Regions from separate parts of the Homo sapiens genome. Here region 1 is linked to region 2. Evidence: promoter capture Hi-C in human tissues and cell types (Jung and others, 2019). All regions are on one chromosome and are shown on one strand. Each heading gives the region's core, a stretch centred on a gene start or on the middle of the fragment in contact. The rest is flanking DNA. Distances are from core to core; before and after follow the strand shown.

Evidence for each region. Contacts are between HindIII fragments. The study calls those that stand out against the background at their distance.
Region 1: a fragment that was not itself captured here is called in contact with the fragment with the promoter of RXFP2 in region 2 in 1 of the 25 tissues and cell types used here (bladder).

What each region holds. Positions count from the first base shown.
Region 1 is chr13:31,690,965-31,695,878 of GRCh38, reverse strand. No RefSeq gene overlaps it. Among named protein-coding and RNA genes, the nearest start is that of RXFP2, 46 kb to the left of the region's middle. The HindIII fragment of the contact is 7,438 bases long and covers 1-4,914 here.
Region 2 is chr13:31,737,741-31,742,273 of GRCh38, reverse strand. RXFP2 (relaxin family peptide receptor 2) reads right to left here and starts at 2,748. Exons shown (of 18, transcript NM_130806.5): 1 at 2,568-2,748. The coding sequence starts at 2,661. The HindIII fragment of the contact is 13,582 bases long and covers 1-4,533 here.

The sequences.
Region 1 (4,914 bases), core at 2,101-4,600, 47 kb after region 2:
TCCTCTGATTGGATAACTTCAAAAGACCTGTCTTCATGGCACACACCTGTAGTCCCAGCTACTCGGGAAGCTGAGGCAGGGGAATTGCTTGAACCCGGGAGGCGGAGGTTGCAGTGAGCCGAGATTGCGCCACTGCACTCCAGCCTGGCGACAGAGCAAGACTCCGTCAAAAACAAACAAACAAACAAAAAAATACACACAAACATAAAAACCTGTCTTCAAGTTAATTGATTCTTTCTTCTGCTCAATCTAGTATGCTGTTGAAGTTCTCTATTGAACTCCTTAGTTTAATCATTATTCTTTATCTCTAGAATTTCTGTTTTTAATAAATGGATTTTTTTTGTTGAACTTCTAGATTTGTTCATGTATTTTCCTAATTTTGTTTAGTTGTCTATCAATTTTTTCTTGTTTACAGAACTCCTTGTAGAGGATTATTCTGAATTCTTTGTCAGTCAGTTAACAGATCTTTGTTTCTTTAGAATCAGTCATTTGAGCTTTATTAGTTTCATTTGATGGTGTATTGTTTCCCTGATTTTTTATGATCCTTGTATCCTTGCACTGGTGTTTGCACATCTGAGGAAGCAGCTACCTCTTCTAGCCTTTATGGGTTCACTTTGGCAGGGATAGACCTCCGTCAGTTAGTCCATCCTGGGGTTCTTGGTAGGCCAGCTCTTAGTATATGTAGGCAGGTGGAGCTTGCTGTAAGATTCTTTAGGTGGGTGGGGCTCCTCCCCATGCTTTGAGGTGAGATGGGTTCTGGCTGGGCTTCAAGCTAAGGCAGGGCTACTGTTTGGCTCCCTAGTTGGGTGGAACCTCTGACTAGACTTTGCAGTCAGGAAGAGTCCTTCACAGGGATCGACAATCCTTGTCTGAGTGCATTGCACGCTGTGCTCCTTGGCTGGGTGGTGCCATTGGTTGGACTCTACAATTGGTTGGAAAGGTAGGCTGGGTTCCACAAATGCTCTTGGTCAGGTGGGGCTCCAGGCTGTGCACCATGGCTGGCTTCTGCCAGTGGCTGAACTGTGCATTCAGGCAAGGTTGCAGCCTGGGCTCCACAAACAGAGACTCAGGCTACAGCCTTCTGTTGAGTGAAGTCACTGGGTAAGTTTCTTATTTTTGATGATTTTGACAGTTTTGAGAATTACCGATCAGGTATTGTGTATAAGGCCCTCAATTGAAATCTTTCACACATTTTTAATGATTAAAAATGTAGTCAGGGAGAGTGACATCAGTAAAATGACAAAGTAGAAGTAATTGGAATCCACTCTTCCCCACAGAAAGCCAGTCAACAACTATTCAGCGGCAGTAATATTACCCAGAGTATCTGAGAGCTTAAAACCGGGGCTGTGATGATCCCTCGGGCACAGAGCAAAGACAAATCAGGAGCAGATCATAAGGAAGATGAGTCTTTTTAACCACAATGCCCTTTCCCCAAGCTGGTAAAGTATTACATGTGAAAAAGAACTCATGGTTTTTATAACGGAAAAAGTGAGTTAGAGCTACTATTCACAATAGGCAAAATATGGAATCAACCTAAGTGTCCATCAATGGATGAATGGATTAAAAAATGTGGTTTATACGAATGTCCATCAATGATAGACTGGATTAAGAAAATGTGGCACATATACACCATGGAATAAATCATTCTACTATATAGGCATATGCACATGTATGTTTATTGTGGCACTGTTCACAATAGCAAAGACTTGGAACCAACCCAAATGCTCATCAATGATAGACTGGATAAAGAAAATGTGGCACATATTCACCATGGAATACTATGCAGCCTAAAAAAGGATGAGTTCATGTCCTTTGCAGGGCCATGGATGAAGCTGGAAACCATCATTCTCAGCAAAATAACACAAGAACAGAAAACCAAACACCACATGTTCTCATTCATAAGTGGGAGTTGAACAATGAGAACACATGCACGTGTACCACAGAATTTAAAGTATAATAATAAAAAAAAGTTTCTATGTCTACTTTGGAAACAAATACTTTCTCAGGTATGTGTTTTGTAAATATTACTCCTATTGTATATTTTCTTATTCTCTTAACAACTTCTTTCATAGAGCAGGATACTTTAATTTTAATGGAATTCTGTTGTGGTGGTATGCTCTGATTCTTTTCTCTTAATATTTTTATTATCTACTACAGGTTTTATTCTTGGTGATTACCATGAAAATTACATAAAATATATTACAGCCAGCCAGGCACAGTAGTTCACACCTGTAATCTCAGCACTTTGGGAGGCCAAGGTGGGTGGATCACTTGAGGTCAGGAGTTTCACATAATGGTGTCTCATAAGTCCTATAAGACTTCTTTACTCTTTTTTATTCCTTTTTAAAAACCATTCCTCTGATTGGATAATTTCAAAAGACCTGTCTTAGAACTAACCCAAATGCCCATCAATGACACACTGGATAAAGAAAGTGTGGAACATATACACCATGGAATACTATGCAGCCATAAAAAAGGATGAGTTCATGTCCTTTGCAGGGACATGGATGAAGCTGGAAACCATCATTCTCAGCAAAGTAGCACAAGATCAGAAAACCAAACACTGCATGTTCTCACTCATAAATGGGAGTTGAACAATGAGAACACAGGGACACAGGTTGGGGAACATCACACACTGGGGCCTGTCAGGGGGTGGAGGGCTAGGAGAGGGATAACATTAGGAGAAATACCTAATGTAGGTGACAGGTTGATGGGTGCAGCAAACCACCATGGCACATGTATACGTATGTAACAAAGCTGCATGTTCTGCACATGTACCCCAGAACTTAAAGTATAATAAAAAAATGTGGTTTATATACACAAAGGGGTACTATTCAGCCATAAAGAAGAATGAAGGAAAGTAGGGGCGACTCACAACCAAAGGAGCCCAAAAAGACATGACAAATAAATGTGATGTGATATCTGGGATGGAATCCTGCAACAGAAAAATGAAGTTAGGAAAAAATTTTCTCCCATTCTGTAGGTTGCCTGTTCACTCTGATGATAGTTTATTTTGCTGTGCAGAAGCTCTTTAGTTTAATTAGATCCCATTTGTCAATTTTGGCTTTTGTTGCTATTGCTTTTGGTGTTTTAGTCATGAAGTCTTTGCCCATGCCTATGTCCTGAATGGTATTGCCTAGGTTTTCTTCTATGGTTTTTATAGTTTTAGGTTTAACGTTTAAGTCTTTAATCATACTGAGTTAATTTTTGTATAAGGTGTGAGGAAGGGGTCCCGTTTTTGTTTTCTTATTGAGAGTTTTTAGCATGAAGCGGTGTTGAATTTTATCAAAGGCCTTTTCTGCATCTATTCAAATAATCATGTGGTTTTTGTCATTGGTTCTGTTTATGTGATAGATTATATTTATTGATTTGCATATGTTGAACAAGCCTTGCATCCCAGGGATGAAGCTGACTTGATTGTGGTGGATAAGCTTTTTGATGTGCTGCTGAATTCAGTTTGCCAGTACTTTATTGAGGGTTTTTGCATTGATGTTCGTCAGGGATATTGGCCTGAAATATTTTGTTATTGTGTCCTGCCAGGTTTTGGTATCAGGATGACACTGGCCTCATAAAATGAGTTAGGGAGGATTCCTTCTTTATCTATTGTTTGTAATAGTTTCAGAATGAATGGTACCAGCTCCTCTTTGTACCTCTGGTAGGATTTGGCTGTGAATCCATCTGGTCCTGGGCGTTTTTTGGTTGGTAGGCTATTAATTACTGCCTCAATTTCAGAACTTGTTATTTGTCTAATCAGGGTTTTGACTTCTTCCTGGTTTAGTCTTTGGAAGGTGTATGTGTCCAGGGATTTATCCATTTCTTCTAGATTTTCCATTTTATTTGCATAGAGGTGTTTATAGTATTCTCTGATGGTAGTTTATATTTCTGTGGGATCAGTGGTGATATCACCTTTATCATTTTTTATTGTGTCTATTTGATTATTCTCTCTTTTCTTCTTTATTAGTCTGGCTAGTGGTCTATCTATTTTGTTAATCTTTTCAAAACACCAGCTCCTGGATTCATTGATTTTTTAAAGGGTTTTTCTTGTCTCTGTCTCCTTTGGTTCTGCTCTGATCTTAGTTATTTCTTGTCTTCTGCTAGCTTTTGACTTTGTTTGCTTTTACTTCTCTAGTTCTTTTCATTGTGATTTTAGTGTGGCGGTTTTAGATCTTTCATGCTTTCTCCTGTGGGCATTTAGTGCTATAAATTTCCTTCTAAACATTGCTTTAGCTTTGTCTCAGAGATTCTGGTACATTGTGTCTTTGTTCTCATTGGTTTCAGAGAGCTTCTTTATGCCTTAATTTGGTTATTTACCCAGTAGTCATTCAGCAGCAGGTTATTCAGTTTCCATGTTGTTGTGTGGTTTTGAGTGAGTTTCTTAATCCTGAGCTCTAATTTGATTGCTCTGTCGTCTGAGAGACTGTTTGTCATGATTTCCATTCTTTTGCATTTGCTGACGAGTGTTTTACTTCCAATTATGTGGTCGATTTTAGAATAAGTGCCATGTGGTGCTGAGAAGAATGTATATTCTGTTGATTTGGGGTGGAGTGTTCTGTAGATGTCTATTAGGTCCACTTGGTCCAGAGCTGAGTTCAAGTCCTGAATATTCTTGTTAATTTTCTGTCTTGTTGATCTGTCTAATATTGACAGTGGGGTGTTAAAGTCTCCTACTTTTATTGTGAGGGAGTCCAAGTCTCTTTGTAGCTCTCTAAGAACTTGTTTTATGAATCTGGGTGCTCCTGTATTGGGTGCATATATATTTAGGACAGTTAGCTCTTTTATTTGCATTGATCCATTTACCATTATGTAATGCCCTTCTTTGTCTTTTTCGATATTTGTTGGTTTGAAGTCTGTTTTATCAGAGACTAAGATTGCAACCCCAGCTTTTTTTTTTTTTTTGCTTTCCGTTTGCTTCGT
Region 2 (4,533 bases), core at 1,499-3,998:
TCAAAATACTGTTCGGGCCCGGTTTTGGTTAACCTATTTTGGAGGTTAAGCAAATTATTTAAGTAGCAATTGGTAGTTGCCAAGTAGCAGCCTCAATGCTTCATGCTTTTACTTTCTTACATAAGCCCATGTTTTTGATTTGTAATATGGTTCCTAATTTGTCCATTAAGAAATGTTTTTTAAAAGTTTAAAGTTATGTTTAATAACTTTATTTTAGAGATGTTTACTCTTAGAGACAGATACTGTTTTTAGATCTGCCTGTGGCTTTGGAGTTCCCAGTCTAATTACGTTAACGCAAGATAGTTACTAACAATTACATGAATTTTATGGACATATTTCAACAGGTTGAAATTCCACAAAACACAATTGGTAGTTACCAAGTAGCAGTCTCAATACTTCATGCTTTTAATTTCCTACATAAGCCCATGTTTTTGATATGTAATATGGTTCCTAATTTGTCCATTAAGAAATGTTTTTTAAAAAGTAGTTTGAAGCTGGTTAACAGAGATACACAGTGAATAAATTAATGATAAAACACACGTAATAATAATAAGATACATTATGCATAGTTGTCTGTTAGTGCCTGTAGCTTAAGGCAATCACTCATTCCTTAGGCACTCCAGAGTGATGATGGTCAGAGAAGAAAAGACGATCACATAATTTCTAATTTTATGTTTTGTTTAGATCTGGCCTAAGAGTCTATCACAAATATTATTTAAATTAAAAAGACAACCTTTACTCTTAGGCAACTCTAAATGAGCTTTCTTTGGTTACTATGAAAAGCCTTACCGTTTTAATTGTCCACAATTTTGTTGTGAAAAAGAAAAGAGTTTTACTAATTATAGAGCAAATTCTATTATTTTTATAAGTAGGAATAAAATGTCAAAGCATTGATTAATGTGTCTTGCTTTGAAAAGAAATCATTTTAAACATAAAGGTTTAAATTAGTAGTCAAAAGTAATATAAAATTAGAAAATAAAAATTTCCAGGATTATAATCAATAAATATTTGTTAGGTTGGTACTAGGAGTTTGAAATATGGCTTTTACTTAGAAATAAAATCAAACAAAAATTATTAATTGAACTTTTTTTTAGTTTAAAGGGTGACTTTACATTATGGTAAATCACAAAATGTTATTTTAGTAATAGATGTTTTTCATCTCATAAACGGTTTAAGCAAAATCAATTAAATGCATTATGTATAAAAGCAAAAGTATAGTAAAATTGGTTAAACTGTGGTTATAGTCCCGTACATTAAAGAACTTTTTAAGGGCACAGATGAGCTCTATGACATGTCTTAAGAACCTGCTTTGTAGCTGTATATTCTTAAAATTGTATAAAATTGAATATTCAAATGTGGATAGAACATGAACTTCTGAAGTAGGACCTTAAATATAGAAATAGACTGCTTGTTGCAACTGTACTGCATGCAAGGTGAGTTCATATATTGTTTCTTCTTAGTTAATCCTTAGCTTTTCATGTAAGAGATATTAAAATATAAAATAAAAGTCATGCTAGGTGCATGGAGATATAGATTTTAAATATTTGTAGTAAAGTTTTAGTATTATTTTAAATTCAAAATAAAATTTAGATATTTTAAGCCTTTTAAAAATCTTTTGTTTGTTAGAAGTTTTAAAATAATTCCTCATAAGTATTGCATTTTATTTCAAGATTTAAAATATTCACTTGGAATTCACCTAATAAAACTGAATATTTAAAAAACCTAAAACGAATTTCTCAGAAAATAAAAATAATTTCAAATTTTAACCTTTATTCTCAGAGGTTTATCAAAATTCTTTAAGAAAAAATACAAATTAAAATAGAAACATTTTTGAATAATAATAAACCCCAGCAAATCTTGGGTGTGGTTAATAGGTTGTTTATGAATGTATAGGCTGACAACGTATCTTTTTATTTAAAAACAAGTGAAGATTTAGGTTTTATTTTTTGGTGAGCTTTACAATGAAAATGGTACTGACTTGAAACTTAAGAGTTTGACTGAAATAAAAATTTCCACAAATTAAAAACAAAAGAAAATTATCTAAGTAAATGCACTTGTATAGACTTTTAATAACTTTATTTTAGAGAGGTTTACTCTTAGAGACAGATACTGTTTTTTAGATCTGCCTGTGGCTTTGGAGTTCCCAGTTTAATTATGTTCACGCAAGATAGTTACTAATAATTACTTGAATTTTATGGGCATATTTCAACAGGTTGAAATTCCACAAAACACAATTTTAGTTTATTAATTTGTCACACTTTTCAGAACAAATGCCAAAAATGTTTTCTATGTTTTAATTGATATAGTCAACATTGTTTTTTGACATATTTTATCTACAGCTTTAATAACATACAAAGGCTTGTTTCCATGAAAAATTTGTTGCATCTAAAAATTACTAGGCTGTGTGGGACTACAAGCAATGAAAGATAATGACAAATACCAGGCAAATTTGATGTCTGTTTTTTTTTTAAACACCCCAATATATTTATTACAACTGCCATAGAACTACATAGAAATGTATTTTTTGGGAATTGCACTCATTTAAAACGAGAAAGTAGCAACCTTACCTTTGACATTGATCAGAACGATGAAATGAAGTAGAAAGAACATTGTAATCAATCTGAGGCTGAAGAGATGTTTAAAAACCAGAAAAACAATCATAGGTTTACAGCAATTGAGTTATTAGACGTATCCTCTTATACCTCAGCAGGAGTTCTGATGTAGTAAGTTCAGTGCCTCCCATGTTCTGAGCATGCTCACAGCTAGAACCTCACTGGCATGAAGGGAGATGGATTCTTGTCACTATGCAGCCTGTCTTTTTTGTTCTTTCTTTTTTGTTTCTTTTAGTTTAAATCTACAGTTGTGTTCTTGATCACTAATTCATTATGGTGTGTAAAAGAAGGTATAATAGGACTTTGGTATTATCTGATAAGAAATATTTTTTAATCACTTAAAAATTTTTTTCCTCCAAAGCATGTACAATTTGCTCTGTTTAAATCCAAACATCGAAGTTCTCAAATATGAAGGATATAGGCTTACACTGAATAGGCTATGAAACCCTTTACAATTATATTTTCATGCAATAAACAAATGTAAAAAACTACTTATTGACAGATACACAAAGAACACCCACTTCTATTCAAATGTACCTAAATGTTTTCAAATGACATATGAAAAGATAATTTAAATATATGGCATTGTGTTAAATAATTACTGTAAAACATTCATACAATATTTTCACTTCACATACTTCCCGCATAATCATATTCCTTTTTCTTGAAGTGAATAATTTTATTCTTGCTTCCAGCTCTGTATTGCACACCTATTAGAAAACACTAATTATAATTTAGTTCTTACATCCTGAAAGCAGCTTTCTCAACAGCATAGTTAGTACAAGTTAAAAGTATAAAAATTGACTTTTGGTTGTAGGATTCTGTTGATCCTAGTGTAATCATTAAGACTTCTCCAAAAAGATGTAGAATTTCCATGTCTGAGTTTATATTTTACTAACAGGGAAATATCTATCTAGAATACAGTTTGTAGTTCTGATTTGAAGAGAAGATTTTGTGACTGAACGATGCAGATTCTCTTATATGTTGTCGTTAACTGTGTCCTAACAACACTGAAAAAAACTACCTTGTGGTGACTATTATCGTCACAAATCATAAAACACGGGGTTTTCCTTGTTCTTTCTTTCATTCTAGCCTTTGAGAGAACAAGGATTCAAACAGAATGTACAATAAAAAATACTTTATTTATCACATAATGTATTTAGTTCTTTTCTCTTTTTAAGAAGTGAGTTAAGTTCTCTAAGACACCTCCCAGACATATTTATATGTGGTCTCATCTGATCTTTCAAATCAAAAGAAAAAGCAACAGAGAGAATAAAGATGAAAAGAAATACTTCAGGATCTTTTCTTACATTTCAAGCATCTTTTTTTCCCTCACTAACCTCAAGGTCTTTTTAGGTAAAAATTGCCTTATTTCACTTAAAGGAATGATTAGTTTTTCTTACGTTTTGTGTTTTGCTGTCGAGATGATGGATGCTAGTTTCTGGTACTGAAATTTTGAGCATGAGTTTTTAAGTGCAATTAAATACCATCATAAGTCTATTTGAAGTATAAATATATTTTCTATGAAAATGTAATTTTTGGAGAAATAAGAAATGTCAAGATGTCAAAGAAATTAGTTAAGATTTATTCATGATATCGAGCCCTAGCAATAGATTTACATTGCCAAAAAGTTGAATCGTTATTCCTTTCTGTTAGGCTTTTCAATGTTAATCTTTGAAATGTATTAACACAAACTTTCAGAAATCAATAATTATAAATAATAGGAACATCTTTGGCTCACTGGTTTTTAAAGGTAGAGCATGCAAGCTTTGAAATACCATTTCATTTAATATGTTTTAACTTTGACTTATCTGGTGTGAATATCCAGCCTTTTGCACCGAAACTGAAATGATTGACATGTACACAGGGATATAATGTATGTGTTTAAATAAGAGTGAATGAATGTAGTCTATTCTTAAAG